Linked DNA regions of Homo sapiens: region 2 is linked to region 1. Evidence: promoter capture Hi-C in 16 types of primary human blood cells and fetal thymus (Javierre and others, 2016). All regions are on one chromosome and are shown on one strand. Each heading gives the region's core, a stretch centred on a gene start or on the middle of the fragment in contact. The rest is flanking DNA. Distances are from core to core; before and after follow the strand shown. Region 1 holds the start of COLEC12 (collectin subfamily member 12). Region 2 overlaps THOC1 (THO complex subunit 1).

The links. Contacts are between HindIII fragments. The CHiCAGO score rates a contact against its expected background, and 5 or more counts as called.
Region 2: a contact is called between a fragment that was not itself captured here and the fragment with the promoter of COLEC12 in region 1, in 2 of 17 cell types (M2 macrophages and monocytes). The highest score is 9.0, in M2 macrophages.

Annotation. Positions count from the first base shown.
Region 1 is chr18:497,564-505,132 of GRCh38, forward strand. COLEC12 (collectin subfamily member 12) reads right to left here and starts at 3,138. Exons shown (of 10, transcript NM_130386.3): 1 at 2,945-3,138. The coding sequence starts at 2,951. The HindIII fragment of the contact is 13,067 bases long and covers 1-7,192 here.
Region 2 is chr18:238,023-245,591 of GRCh38, forward strand. All of the region lies in intron 11 of THOC1 (THO complex subunit 1), which reads right to left. Among named protein-coding and RNA genes, the nearest start is that of THOC1, 26 kb to the right of the region's middle. The HindIII fragment of the contact is 1,836 bases long and covers 3,051-4,886 here.

The sequences.
Region 1 (7,569 bases), core at 1,888-4,387:
CCAGATAATTTTTGTATTTTTTAGTAGAGACAGGGTTTCATTACATGTTGGCCAGGCTGGTTTCACTATATGGTGATCCGCCTGCCTCAGCCTCCCAAAGTGCTGGGATTACAGGCATGAGCCACTGCACCTGGCCAAGAATGTTTTAGATTAACACGTTTATTCTAAGAATTTACAAGGCTTGTCGTTGCTTTCTATCATGTTGGCTTTCTGAAGCACGGGGAGTTAACAACTATTTGATGTAATCAGGAACCCGGGGAAAATCTTTAGTTGGTTCCCTATGGCAAATGGTCAAAACAATTCCACTTGGTAAAAGCAGCTTTCCGTTTTTGTCTAGGCTTCCAAAGCCTCACATGCAACTGGTTGGCTCCACCTCTTCCTGGATACAGCACCAATTGTGGGTTACTTGGCTAGTTAGTTGTCTCAGATTCACTTTTTTTTCCAGTCATCTTCACCAGAGGTTATCTATTTGGTGTCTTAGGGCCTTCCAAGCCACACGGGGTAACTGACAAGGCTTGTCTTTAGATGCCTACTCTATCCTCCTAGTTGCCAGTTCCTATTTCTTCTAGACTCAGTTTTCATACCTATACTGTTAGGATTGAAATGTCTACTCTCAGGGCTGTTGAGAGGATTAATTGCAATGTGTTTGTAGTGTATATAGTACAGTGGCTGGCACTTAGTAGGTACTAAAAAATTATTACTGCCCCTCCCGTCCCCACCCCACCACTCAGACAAATGTAATAAATACAGATTACGTGGTAATAATTGGTAGGCAAAACTCTCATGGAATATTTTTTTTCTTTTTTTTTTTTTTAGACGGAGTCTCGCTCTTGTCACCCAGGCTGGAGTGCAATGGCTCGATCTCGGCTCACTGCAACCTCCATCTCCTGGGTTCAAGTGATTCTCCTGCCTCAGCCTCTCAAGTAGCTGGGATTACAGGTGCCTGCCACCACGCCCAGCTAATTTTTTGTATTTTTAGTAAAGACAGGATTTCACAATGTTGGCCAGGCTGGTCTCGAACTCCTGACTTCGAGTGATCTTGCCCACCTCGGCCTCCCAAAGTGCTGGGATTACAGGTGTGAGCCACCGCGCCCCGCTGGAATATTTTCGTTTTTAAAAGAGGGCTTCAAAATGATTAGTCTACCCGGGGATTCACCAGTCCGTCCCTCCATCAACCTCCCCGACTGGGGCGGAAAGTGTATGGGGCTTCTGGGCAGCGCTAGACCACAGCGGGTAGGCCACCATCTGGTCCAGAATGCAGCATAAATCTCTCCAAAAATGTGTTTAGGACTTCTGGGTATGTTTTCCAGTGCAAATGTAAAGTGGAAAAGTGTCTCAAGTGCAATAGCGGTCCTTTACCCAGTAAAAAGCATAACAAAAGTTTCAGGGTTTAAGAACCCACGTGGGAGCTGATGGAGTGGGTAGGTGGTTAATCTTCCCAAGTTTTAAAAACCACTGGTCTTAATGACCAGCAGAGAAGATTCACTTCTGGCTAAAATGATAACTGAGCCCCAGATAACTTTTAGCCATGTGAAATTCTTTCCTTTCTAGGGAGTCTCCTCAATCAGAGCCAGCTAAGGAATGTGTGTATTTCCTAGAATGTAAATGAGGGAAGAGAAACTGAGATGGAGACAGAAGGAAAGCAAGCCACTGCATTTTGAAATTCTCTAGGTAGGCAGTTGTATCGTGTCTTTTGTTTCTTTTTCCCTGGGGCAGACCACTTTTCACCTGGCCATCAGTCACCTCCCTTCCCGAGGTCTCCCGACGTGGACACCTAACGCCCTTGGAAAGGGAGTGAATTGGTAGGATATCATCGCTCCGGTTAGTTCCGCGGGAGCTGCCCTTCAGAAAAAAAACTTTCCAGAGCCAAAAGTTACTTTCCAAGCGCCTTGGGGCTTCCCGGGCGCCTCCCTCGGACGGCAACCCTAGAAGTCAAAGCGATTGCATCGCCAGGTCTGTGGCGGCTGGAAGCGGGGTGACCGCGGTCAGATGGCATTTCGCACCCACGCAGGGCTGTGTTATCCTAGCACAGAACCAGCAACTCTCACACGAAGCCTTGTGTAAACACCACGCGGGCCCATTCCTGAACGACTCTTTGATGCCTCCGCTGCGGTTACTTATCTCATACATAAATCAGGATTCCGCTGACAAATCTCCGTGTTTCCACTAAACAGAAGGCTGCCCTGCAGTCCTTCTCGTGCTTCTTTCTAAAGTACGATAACATCTGACACTTCCATAAACCGGCCTGCAGAGGACACCGCGCAGGGGGCGACTAACCAGCTGAGGTGTGTCACCCCAAAACACCAGTGGGCACACCCCAAGGCGGGCACGTGGAAGGGACGCGGAACCGAGGGCAACTATTTTCCAGTCGGTGAATCTGATGGAGAAAGATGCCAAATGCACTTCCCGAGCCAGCTGAACTCCTCGGGCACCTAATCATTGCCAGATGTGGCGAGGGCGCACGGAGAACATCCCCAGTCCCGGAGAAAACACCCGGCCGCCAGCGCGGGGACCGCTCGGGCCGGGAAACGGCTAGAGGCGGGAGGAGAGAGGACTGGGCGAGCGTGGGGAGCGCTGCGGCGTGGAAAAGCGACCGGGAGGGATGGCGATGCCTCCACTCTCCTCGGCAGGTTTTTTCAATTAAAAAGTTGGAAACGGGAATCCGTAAACAACGACTTAGGGCTTCAAACTACTTGCAAAGACGCGATGGGGAGGGGAATACTTGCGCGCTTCAAAACCCCAACCTCGAGGTCTCCAGCCGCGCCTGACCCGGGAGCCGGGTGCGCCCCCAGTGTCCGCGCACGAACCCGGCGCCCTGGCAGCCCCGACTCCCCGGGCCCGCAGCCCAAGGGAAGGTTCGCGCGGGAGGCACCTCCGTGGCCTCCCGCGCGCCCCGAAGCCCGTTCCCCCCGCCCAGAGCCCCGCGGAGCTGCCGCCGCCCTACCTTTCATGGTGACCGTGGGGACGCACCGCCGGCCGGGGAGCTCCGCGCGAGCGCCGCGCAGCCGAGGAAGTCGTCCCGAGCGGCTGCTCACCGCACGCCCATGGTAGCCGCGCCGCGCGCCGGCCGTCTGCGCCCCCGTCCTCCCTCGCCGCCGCCGGCCCGCGCTCCCCGCGCTCCCGGCTCCGCGCTCTGCTGCCTCGGGGCTGCCGCGCGCGCCGCTCTCGCTCTCCCAGCGCCCCTCCCCCTGGCCCGACCCGGCCGAGCGAGCGGCCGCGCCCACGCCCCTCTCGCGCCCTCCCGCGCCCGCCCCGCCCTCGGCCCGCGCCTGCCCTCGCCGGGCACTTTCTCGCCCGCCCTCTCCTGCGCGCCCTGGCCCCACTCGCGCGGGCTCTCTCTTTTTCCCGTTGCACCAGCGTCGGGATGAAGTCGGGAGCAAAGCCCTTCCCGGGGCGGTCCAGCGTTCACCTTCGGCGAGCACCTAAGGTGCCGCTGCTGCTGGGGTCGCTTCTACACCCCAAACTACCTAGCAAGTGTTGGGCGAGAGGATGGGGAGCTGCTGTGCCCCGGGGGTGGCGGGGGGTAAGGTGGGCCCTTCCCCAAACGGCTCTGGGGCATGGAGAGGTACAGAACGTCCTCCGGGTTCAGAGTTTCCAAGTGCGTGCGCTGGTTGACGCCTGAAGGAGACCAAGCAGCAGGGAACACTCTCTCTGTCACCCAGGGAGAGCCCGAGTGGCCAGAATCCGAAGTCACCATTAGACACTCTCTCTGCGCTCTTGGACACCTCCAGAGAAAAAGCCAGCACATCCTGCCTTGGCTGGAAAAGCCAGCCTTCCACCCAGCGCCCCTAAAATGATCGGGTTGACTCCAGTTTTGTTACGAAAGGAGGCCGGGCTGCTGAGAGGCTCCCTGAGTTCCCTTCGTGGTCGCCCGTCACATTGCCCTGCTGTATACTTAATAAAGCCCGTGTTTATCTTTCTCTTTAGAACCCCCTCTAAGCAGACCCATCGCTTTATTGCTTTAAAACATACACTAAGTGGTGAGTGGAGCTGGGGCGAGGGAGGTGCGGAGAAACTTTCTGCCACATGTTGACATTACAGATGGCTACTCAGACGCACTAGTCCACCAAAAGCAATCGAACACTGGCCGGGCAGTGCTTGCAGCTTTTCAGTTTGCCCTCCTGAGGACTTGGTAACACGGTGTAACCAATCCATTGGTTCCCTCTAAGTAGGGGATTCTTTGCTCTAGTAAAAGGTAGTGCCCCAAAATGAATACATATTGAAACATTTCATAGATTCTCCGTTCCAGGAGATTTCTTTTTTCTTTCTTTTTTTTTTTTTTTAATTTTTTAACATAAGGGGGCACCTTGAACATGACGAACAAATGAAAAGACCGAAATGCTTTTTCCCCCGCACTGTCTGCAGTTGATGAAACTACAGGGTCCTGGTCCTGGAGCATGTTTCAGATCTCACTGGGGCACCAGCCTTGTCTTTCAGGGCAAATGGGGATCCCTGAAGGGAGCTTAGGATATGAATTTTCAGCCCGGAGTTTACTAACCAATGGCGTGACCTCGGCTCACTGCAACCTCCACCTCCCGGGTTCAAGCGATTCTCCTGCCTCGGCCTCCCGAGTAGCTGGGATTACATGCGTGTGCCACCAGGCCCAGCTAATTTTTTTGTGTTTTTAGTAGAGACGGGGTTTCACTATGTTGGCCAGGCTGGTCTCGAACTCCTGACCTCGTGATCCGCCCACCTCTGCCTCCCAAAGTGTTGGGGTTACAGGCGTGAGCCACCGCGCCCGGCTTTCTTTTTTTTCTTTCTTTCTTTTTTTTTTTTTTTTTTTTTGAGACGGAATCTCACTCTGTCGCCCAGGCACAATCTTGGCTCACTACAACCTCTGCCTCCTGAATTCAAGCAATTCTCCCACCTCAGCCTCCCAAGTAGCTGGGACTACAGGGGTGGGCCACCAAGCCCAGCTAATTTTTGTATTTTTAGTAGAGACGGGGTTTCACCATGGTGGCCAGGCTGCTCGCAAACCGTACCTCAAGCGATCCGCAGGCATCAGCCTCACAAAGAGCTGGGATTACAGGCGTGAGCCACCACGCCCTGCCGAAAAAAAAAAATCGTTTTTAAAACCCAAATTATGAATATGACACCAAAAGTACAGGCAGCAAAAGAAAAAATATAGATAAATTGTACTTCATCAGACTTTTGTGCCTCAAAGGCCAGTATAAACAGAGTGGAAAGCCAACCCACAGAATAGGAGAAAATATGTGCAAAAGCCCTATATCTGATACAGGATTAATATCCAGGATATATAAAGGATTCCTGCACCTCAGCAACAACAACAAAACAGGCAACCCAATTTGAAAATGAACCAAGGACTGACATGGACATTTCTCCACAGAAGACATATAATGGCCAATAAGTACATGAAGGATATTCAATCACTAATTGTCAGGGAAATTTGAATCAACCGCAATGAGCTACTACTTCATACCCAGTAAGATGGCTATTTAAAAAAAAAAACAAAACAAAATAAGTGTTGGCGAGGATGCGGAGAAATTAGAACTTTTGTGCATTGCTGGTGGGAATGTAAAATGGTACAGCCACTATGGAAAACAGTATGGTGATTTCTCCAAAAATTAAACACACAATTACCATATAGTCCAGGAATTCTATTTCTGGGACCCAAAAGAGGTGAAAGCAGGGTAACAAATAGATGTACATCCAGGCTCATAGCAACATTACTCACAATAGCCAAAAGGTGGAACAACCTAGTGTTCACTGTTGAATGAATGGATAAACAAAATATGGTATAGCCATACAGTGGAATATGATTCAGTCTTTAAAAGGGAGGAAATTCTAACACATGCTACAACACGGATAAAACTTGAGGCATTATGCTTTGTGAAATAAGCCAGTCACAAAAGGACCAATATGATTCTACTTATAAAAGAGAGTAAAATGCCGCCAGACGTGGTGGCTCACGCCTGTAATCCCAGCAGTTTGGGAGGCCAAGGCAGGTCAATCACGAGGTCGGGAGTTTGAGACCAGCCTCGCCAACATACTGAAACCCCTGTCTCTACTAAATATACGAAAATTAGCCAGGCATGGTGGCTGGCACCTGTAGTCCCACCTACTTGGGAGGCTGAGGTGGAAGAATCGCTTGAACCCGGAGGCAGAGGTTGCAGTGAGCCGAGATCGCGCCACTGCACTCCAGCCTGGGCGACAGAGTGAGACTCCATCTCAAAAAAAAAAAAAAAAAAAGAGAGAGAGAGAGAGAGTAAAATGCATAGGGATAGAAAGTAGAATGGTGGTTGCCGGGGGGGGGATGGGGAGTTGTTTCACAGGCACAAAGATTCCATTTGGCAGGATGAAAAGAATTCTGGAGATGGATGGTGGTGATGGTTGCACAACAATGTGAATATACTTAAAGCCACTGAACTATACACTGAAAAATAGCTAAGATGATAAATATATATATTTGACTACAATAAAAAAATTCAAACAGAAGAATGATAAGGTAAAAAACAAACAAGAAACCCCTAAGGCTATGATGTCAGCTGTGATAATGAGCCAGATTCATAGATCTACTGATGAGAAAACAGGCTTAGCAACTTTTCTAAGGATAATTTTAAGGAACAGTCCTGGGACCAGGTGCGGTGGCTCATCCCGGGGCTTTGGGAAGCCAGGGAAGGAAGGTCACTTGAGGCCATGAATTCAAGACCAGCCTGGGCAACATAGTGAGACAAAAAATTTAAAAATCAGCTGGGTGTGGTGGCATGCATCTGTAGTCCCAGCTACTCATCAGGCTGAGGCAGGAGGATTGCTTAGGCCCAAGAGTTTGAGGCTGCAGTGAGCTAGGATCATGCCACTGTACTCCAGCCTGGGCAACAGAGTGAAACCCATCTCTAAAAAAAGAAGGAATCCTGGATGAGTGCCTTCCTCCCCCCACCCTGTCACCTTCAGCACAGAGTGAGTTGGGCCCCACAGGTCCTCAGTGTGGAGCCTCCTCTGAGCCCCACTCTGGAGGATATGAAGACGGAAGGTCATGGTCACATGCAGATCATCAGCTGATCAGGATTTCTCTGGTCAAGAGCTCTGGGAGGAATTGAGAATTGAGCTGGGGATCAGGGAGAAAAGAAGGGAAAAGGAAAGAAGAGAAGAATGTGATTGGAAAGGACTGAGCCATGGAGCTGAAGATGCTTTGAACTCAAAGATGGCCTGCAGGTCCTCCAGGTCACAGGCAAGCTTCCCCACCCCCAGAAGCAGCAGCCAGGCCTTGCATTCAGACTAAAGTTTCAGAATCTGGAGGAAGCATCATCTCATCTTCCCCTCACCCCAGCCCCATGCTAGTATCACCTTTATACTGATGAAAAAGCCCAATCACCCTTGACTCCTCCCTCTCCCTCAACTCTACATCCTCACCAAGCCCTGCTTCTACCTTAGAAATACATCTCAAACTTCTCTGTCTCTCCATCTCCACTGCATCCCCCATGTAGAGGCCATCATAGCCCATCTGAGCTGCTGCACTAACCTTCCAAAGGGCCTCCCCACGCCCACCTTGGCACCTTCTCCACTCCAGGCTCCAACACACAGCAGCCAGAGCAGCCACGAAGGACAGAT
Region 2 (7,569 bases), core at 2,719-5,218, 260 kb before region 1:
CGCCTGGATAATTTTTGTATTTTGTGGAGATGGGGTTTCACCATGTTGGCCAGGCTGGTTCTCAAACTCCTGACCTCAAGTGATTTGCCCACCTTGGCCTCCCAAGGTGCTGGGATTACAGGTGTGAGCCACTGCACCCAGCTCTACTTTCTAATAATTCTTTTCAAACTGTCTTTCAAAAAAAAGTTCTTAAAAAAATGAAAAATCTAATTTTAGCTTAAAGGTCTCTCAGTGTCCCTGCTGAGTTATAAGATAAAAGGAGATGCCCACTGAAGGCAGGAGCTATCAAGTCTCAATCCTTTTATTTAGTAAAAAGGTAACCTGAAGATACAGTCTCAAATTAAAAAGTTTTAAGCAACTTTCTGTACTAATAATGTGTTGCTTACCTACAGGGATACATTCTAAGAAAGGTGTCATTAGGCAATTTCCCCATTGTGTGAATATCATAGAGTGTACTTAACAATAGTATTGCCTACTACACAACTAGGCTATATGGTACAGCCTATGGCTCCTGGGCTACGAACCTGTAGAGCATGTTACTGCACTGAATACTGTAAGCAACTGTAACACAATGGTTAAGGATTTGTGTATCTAAACATAGAAAAGGCAAAGTAAAAACACAGTATTATATAATCTATAATCTTACAGAACCACTGTTGTACATGGGGTCCACTGTTGACCAGTTATGTGGTTGTTATGTGGTGCCATTATGGGGTGCATGACTGTACTGTGAAGTAGACTTAGAAGGCTACAGTATTCCTCAATAAAATAAATATCAAAAATTTAAATTTCATTTTCCTTAATACTCATAGTCAATGTAAAACAAACTCTTTAATGTTTTACATTAGTACTGTTTGAAAGTTTTCAGTTTAAAAGATGACTTTATGACTTTTCTTTGATTAAACCACAAGGTAGAAAAAAGATACAAATATAGAATTTTAATAAACATAAGACTTTTCTACCTTTAAAAGGCTAAAATGAAACTTTCTAATTAACATTGGTTATTTTGTTGTTACCTCTATTATTAACTCAGGATTATTTACACATAAACATGGGTGAACAACTAAATCAAGCTGTGATTAAACAGCCAGTGTTTATATATTGGTTTTCATAAATCTCAGACAATACTGAAAATTATATGAATTTACAGAATATTCTTACGCTATCCGGTAAAGTTTTAATATTCTATAGGATTACAGAGTATTGAAAAAATTTCTACAAAAAGTTAAAATTCAGACACAGAAAACATAAAAAGTCCCTAACATACGATACTTTTATTTATTTTATTTATTTATTTTTTGAGACAGAGTCTCGCTCTGTTGCCCAGGATGGAGTGCAGTGGTGTGATCTCAGCTCACTGCAACCTCTGCCTCCTAGGTTTACGCAATTCTCCTACCTCAGCCTCCCGAGTAGCTGGGATCATAGGCACCTGCCACCACGCCCGGCTAATTTTTTGTATTTTTAGTACAGACAGAGTTTCGCTGTGTTGGCCAGGCTGGTCTCAAACACCTGACCTCAAGTGATCTGTCTGCCTCGGCCTCCCAGAGTGCTGGGACACAGGCGTGAGCCATTGTGCCTGGCCTGATTCATATGTTTTTAAACCTATGTATCTCTGACTATACCTTAACATGTTTGTTCTTCATAACACTCAGGATGAAATAAATCAGTTAATGTTTACATATTAAACATGATAGAATTGTTTTAAAAACCAAAGTTTTAAATAATACTGTTATTAAACACTGATCTATTAAAACATGCATATCAAAGTATACTGAAAACTAATAAACACTTGTATATAATAGAGGAGGGAGCCCAATTAACACAGAGAAAAAATTTTTTTTTCCTCTGGGTATGAAGTCCATTTATAACCAGGTAATAATTTTTTGCCCTCTACAGAGTCTGTCCAGGAGTCCAAAATTATTGTCCTCATCAGAGAACATTTTCTTTTCAAAGGTCTATTAACATTTAAAATATGACTTTGTTATGCTTTTGTGTAATCATGACTATACACTGTTGTAAAAATAATGAGAGTTCTCATTTCTAGAGGATCTAAAATTTGTAATGGTCTTTCTGTTATAGTCAGTATTAATTTCTATTACTTTGGCTAATAAGAAGGTTGGGTGACTTCTTATTCTATCTCTGCTCTTTATCTTATCAAATAACTAGTCTCCTCTGCTAAGCCTTTCAGACTTTGCCTCTCTTCAAGATTAGGCTCCAAATTCAGAGCCTACTTTGGCAGTACATCTTCTGCACCCTGTCTTTGGTCTTTCCTAGAGGGCTGCTACTTGGTAGCATCAATCACTTTACTTTCTTATCTTGCTTGTATAACCATGGCTTGACTCACACACAGAGGTTATTCTAAAAATAACAATGGCAGAGTATGCTCTAAGTTTTGTAATATGCTCAATGATATTTAAAGAACTGTTCTATCTGTCAGGACCAGAGTTCAAAAATGTCAAAACAGAGGGTAGTTCATGCTTTCCGCCCTGAAGACCATTACAAGTCAATTTTACAATCATATGAAAAGGTTTTGGCTATAGTATTTACCTTTACAGGACGAGTGAAAGCACACCCATATGCTAAGACTGACATGACTGTCAGCAAAAGACTTCTAAAGCAGGGATCCCCAACCTTTTTGGCACCAGGGACTGGTTTCATGGAAGACAATTTTTCCACAGACCAGGGGTTATGGGGTAGAGGGAATGGTTTTGGGATGATTCAAGTGCATTACATTTATTGTGTACTTCATTTCTATTATTAATATATTGTAATATATAATGAAATACATATACAACTCACCATAATGTAGAATCAGTGGAAGCCCTGAGCTTGTTTACCTGCAACTAGAAGGTCCCATCTGGGGTTGGTGGGAGACAGTGACAGATCATCAGGCATTAGATTCTCATAAGGAGCACACAACCTAGATCCCTCATGATCAGTTTACAATAGGGTTCATGTTCCTATGAGAATCTAATGCTGCTGCTGATCTGATAGGAGACGGAGCTCAGGTGGTAATATGAGTGATGGAGAGCAGCTGTAAATACAGATGAAGCTTCGCTTGCTTGCCCACTGCTCACCTCCTGCTGTGCAACCCTGTTCCAGAGCTATCTAAAAGCCTCCCATGCCGAGAACAACTAATGAGATAAAAAAAAAAATTGTAGCATAGTGGTTAGCCTGCCCACTTGTTAACAGGAGGGTCTTGCTTCTGCCTTCATTTGCTCCTAGCTAGGCTATAGTATATCTTATAAGAGACCCACCTTAGCCGTTACTACATAAAGATTCAACCTCTCAAATGGACATAAAAAGTACAAAACATTTAAGGCAGAATGACTATATGGATAGTTTCTTACTGCCAGGAACTTTTTTTTAAAAAATGACCAAAAGTCCTAACTAGAGGCCTCTTCACACAATGCAGAGACCAAGCAAAATTGTGAATTTTCTTTTCTCCATGAAAATGAATGGCCTAATGACCACACTAGGGTCAACAGTACATAACTGTGGGTAACCTCACCCTGGTAACTGCTAGCCACTGAGTATTCCATCTGATCATTTTGGTCATTGAGTCTCAGATGGAAAGTGAGAAGTGTATTATTCTGAAGGACTGGGTAACCCTAAAGCCTATATCTAATTAGTGTTATTATACTCTTTTCTGTGAGAACTTAAAAGATCCAAAAATATATTCCTTTAACCATCATGGTAATACTCATGGTACTTAAACATTTTGAAATGTTGTTCTGCTTTTACATGCTACATAGTACAGAGGGAGGAATCCCTACAATACCAGTGCCTTTTATTTGGTATAAGTTGAACAATTAGAGGTAAAATCCTCCCTTAACATTTCTGAGTATGATCCTGGACTAACCTTAAAGAACAGATACTTTTCCACTGCATTAGAAAATAAGCAACCCAGGTGTATCAGCACTACATTTAGCAAGTAGTAACCCTGGATTATTTTGCTCTGCTAAAAAGGGAACTATACTGTTGGGCACTAGTATTCAGAATCACACTCCAGGTAGTACAAAAATGTGGCACTTTGTTTCTAGGGGAAACTTCTTTCTTTAAGAAGGAAGACACAATAATTTACAAAGACACCCATTTTATTTGTAGAACCTCTACCTACCTGTAGTTGCCACATGACTGGCCTATCTCCAACTATAAAGTTTATATCATCTGGCTGGGCGTGGTGGCTCACGCCTGTAATCCCTGCACTTTGGAAGGCTGAGGCAGGCAGATCACCTGAGGCTGCGAGTTCGAGACCAGCCTGGCCAACATGGCAAAAAACCTGTCTCTATTAAAAATACAAAAATTGGCCAGGCGTGGTGTTGGGCGCCTGTAATCCCAGCTACTTGGGAGGCTGAGGCACGAGAATCGCTTGAACCCAGGAGGTGGAAGTTACAGTGGGCCAAAAAAAAAGTGTCTCAAAAAAAAAAAAAAAGTTTGTATCATCCTTGCCAAGCATTGTTTCCGGACTATCCCTAAGGAAAAGTCTGACCAGATTCATGTAACAAAACACAATGCTTCTGGATAATATTCCCATTGGATGGGGTCACGGCTCTATTACAGAGATGAAAGATCTAACCTTGTAATGACAAGCACTTTTCTAAACCTGCTCACCAGTGAAATGATAGGCTAAAGAGTTATGCTCCAAATAATCATAGCTTTAGATTTCACTTTAGCTAGCTCTTACTGGCAAGGAATATGGCACCCATATCCCTGAAAAATCCAGACCTTTCTCATGACTTACCAAATCTATATCAAAAGTTGAAAGTAACATCAGGCCCAAAACTGGCATATATTTAGGTGTGAAGGCCTTTTTGGGAATCCTAGTATCAAAACACCATGTAAGGTACAGAGATGCTGGAAGGCTTCTTTCAGTGCAGCAGTAAAGCTTATAAAATGTTGCATATTTTCCATGATACACGTAATGCATTACAAATATTTTCACTTGTATATTAAGTAGTAAAAACTAAAAATACACCAAAAAATATGAAGAATGTACAAAGAGGACTGTAAATTTAAGACAAAGTTGTTGCTTAAGGGGCAACAAAGGGAAATGAAGATGCAAAACATTACATGCCTCACATTCTCTTTGGTACAATTTTGTGCCTTTTTCTTACTCCTATGGTAAGTTTTAAGCTTCTCAAAGCTGTTTTTACCTTCCTCGTGATGTGATATTAATTAATGAAATTTCAGTGCTTAATCCTGAAAGTTCATGTTCTAACTGCTGGTGAAAGCAAGTTCACAAAGAATCAGAAAAGGAGAGATACTATTAGAAAGCCAAGTGTGACAAAGTGAATGGAGAATGATATAAAAGCATCAATCCCATATTCCAATGTGGAGATTTCTCTGAAAATGTTTAATCCTGCTGTTTTTCATTACTAAAATGTCTTTAGAAATGCTATTTGTTCGGGAGGTGGAGGCAGGAGAATCGCTTAAACCCAGGTGGCAGAGGTTGCAGTGAGCCAAGACCACGCCATTGCACTCCAGCCTGGGCGACAGAGCAAAACTCCGTCTCAAAAAAAAATATATATATATATATCAATTAAGACATCCAGAGTTTTGAAATAGCTGTCATGTCCTGAGAAATGTGGACCTGTAACTCTTAAAAATACACAACTCTTACTGGTTGTTTTATTTTGTAACTTTTTTGCCCTGATAATATTAAACTGACACCTCTGCATTCTAAAAGTAGGTAACCTTGGGAAGGTTCTTTGTTAAGCAAGAAGAGCTTTGGGATTTTCTTACACATGAAGTAGAATAAAACTTTTGAATTCTTTAGTTAACCAAAAGGTTTCTATATTTGTTTCATTTAAATTAACAAATATAGCTGGAGTTTTAAAAATCCAATCTGATAAAGTCTTATTAGGTATATTAAATCAGTCTATACTTGTTATTACTGACCTATTTCTCTCCTCCTTTCTCTTCCTTTTTTCTGCCATTCGCTGGATTTATAAAGTGGTCTAGATTCCTCCCTGCCTCCCTTTGATCTCTGTTCTTTGAGAGCAACAAGTTGGTTTTCTTTTGGTGGTTACCCTTTTAATATACATGAAAAGGAATATTCAGTATTCCTTTCCTACTCCTGAAGATTACAAGGACTGCCATAATTTTAAATTACTCACTAAACATCTCTGCTTTCCCCTTCCATATTATTACTGTCATCTAGTTAAGTTCCACGTTAATAAAATTTTTTAATTAAAAAAATTTTAAATCATTCATGACTTTTTTGTGTTTATAGTCAATAGTAAATTTACTGTCATATTTTTCAATTTTTGTGCTCACCGTTGCCTTCTGTATCCCACTCCATTCTTATGGGTTCAATTTCCTTCCTCCTGAAGAACATCCTTGAGTAGTTTTTTTCAAAATGAGGGTCACTGAGTGGTAAGTTATCCTGGTCTTTAAATAAAAATGTCTTTCTTTCATCGACAGTCTTGAGTATATTTAACTCGGTATAAAATTCTAGATTGAATGTCATTTTTCTTTCAGCACTTTAATATTTCTCTACTGTCTTCTGGTATTAATGGTTGATATGTTAGAAATCTGCTAACAGTCAAACTGCTGTGCCTTCCCAGTATATTTGTCTTTCTTATCCCTTAGTGGCTTTTAGGTTTTCTCTGAATGCCCACAGTTATGGCATGATGTAATGAAGAGTAGATTTATCTTTCTTTATCCTGCTTGGCAGTTGTGACACACTTTTAAGCTGAGGATTTGAGATTTCCTTCAATTCTTTGCAATCCAGTTTCTCTACCATTCCCTCCATTTTCTTCTTTGGAAATCCTACTAGACAGATGTTGGAAATTCCCAATCTATTCACCATGGCTTTTAACTGCTCTTCCACTTAAAAAAAAAAAATCTGTCTGTGCTGCTTGCTGGATGAAGTTCTCATCACCTTCTTCAGTTCACTAGTTCTTTGTTCATCTATGTCCAGTGTATAGTTTAATTCTGTGTGCTGAGTTTTGGTTTCAATTATTGTATTTTTCATTCCCAAGACTCCCGATTAGTTGTATCGACTGTCCTACTTCATTTCAGCCTGCTTTTGTTTCATGATTTCTTGTTCCTTTTCAATGGATGTTATCTCATCGATTATCTTTTTGAGTATCCAAAACATACATAAAGTCTTGGTCAGGCTATATATTTCATCTGGAATAAATATATATATATATCCCAATAGTTGATTTTGCTGGTGATCCTTCTTAGCATTAGATTTATGGATTTTGGAATTTTAATTTATCAGAGTTTTGAACAGGAGCCTTTTCTTTTGGGATGTTTGTTTACTTCCTTTCCCCTCCCTCTCTGTGTACATCCTTCCCTGTCTAGCAGTTTTGCATCTGCTTCTACCAGGGCCCCTGAGTCCAAAAGTCTAGAAGAAGTCTTATGATGACTTCTTGGAGCAGCTGTTTCATAAGTATACTGAGCATATCACATATCTGGTCACTGAGCAAGCAGATGGACACAAAGCTGTCTTTGTTATCCCTAGGCTCACAACTTCCTATAAAACCATAGCCCTTGGCAGAAGACTGGCAATATTTTTTCTTAGTTTCTTCCCAAAACTGGATAAAAGTTCCACCCTAG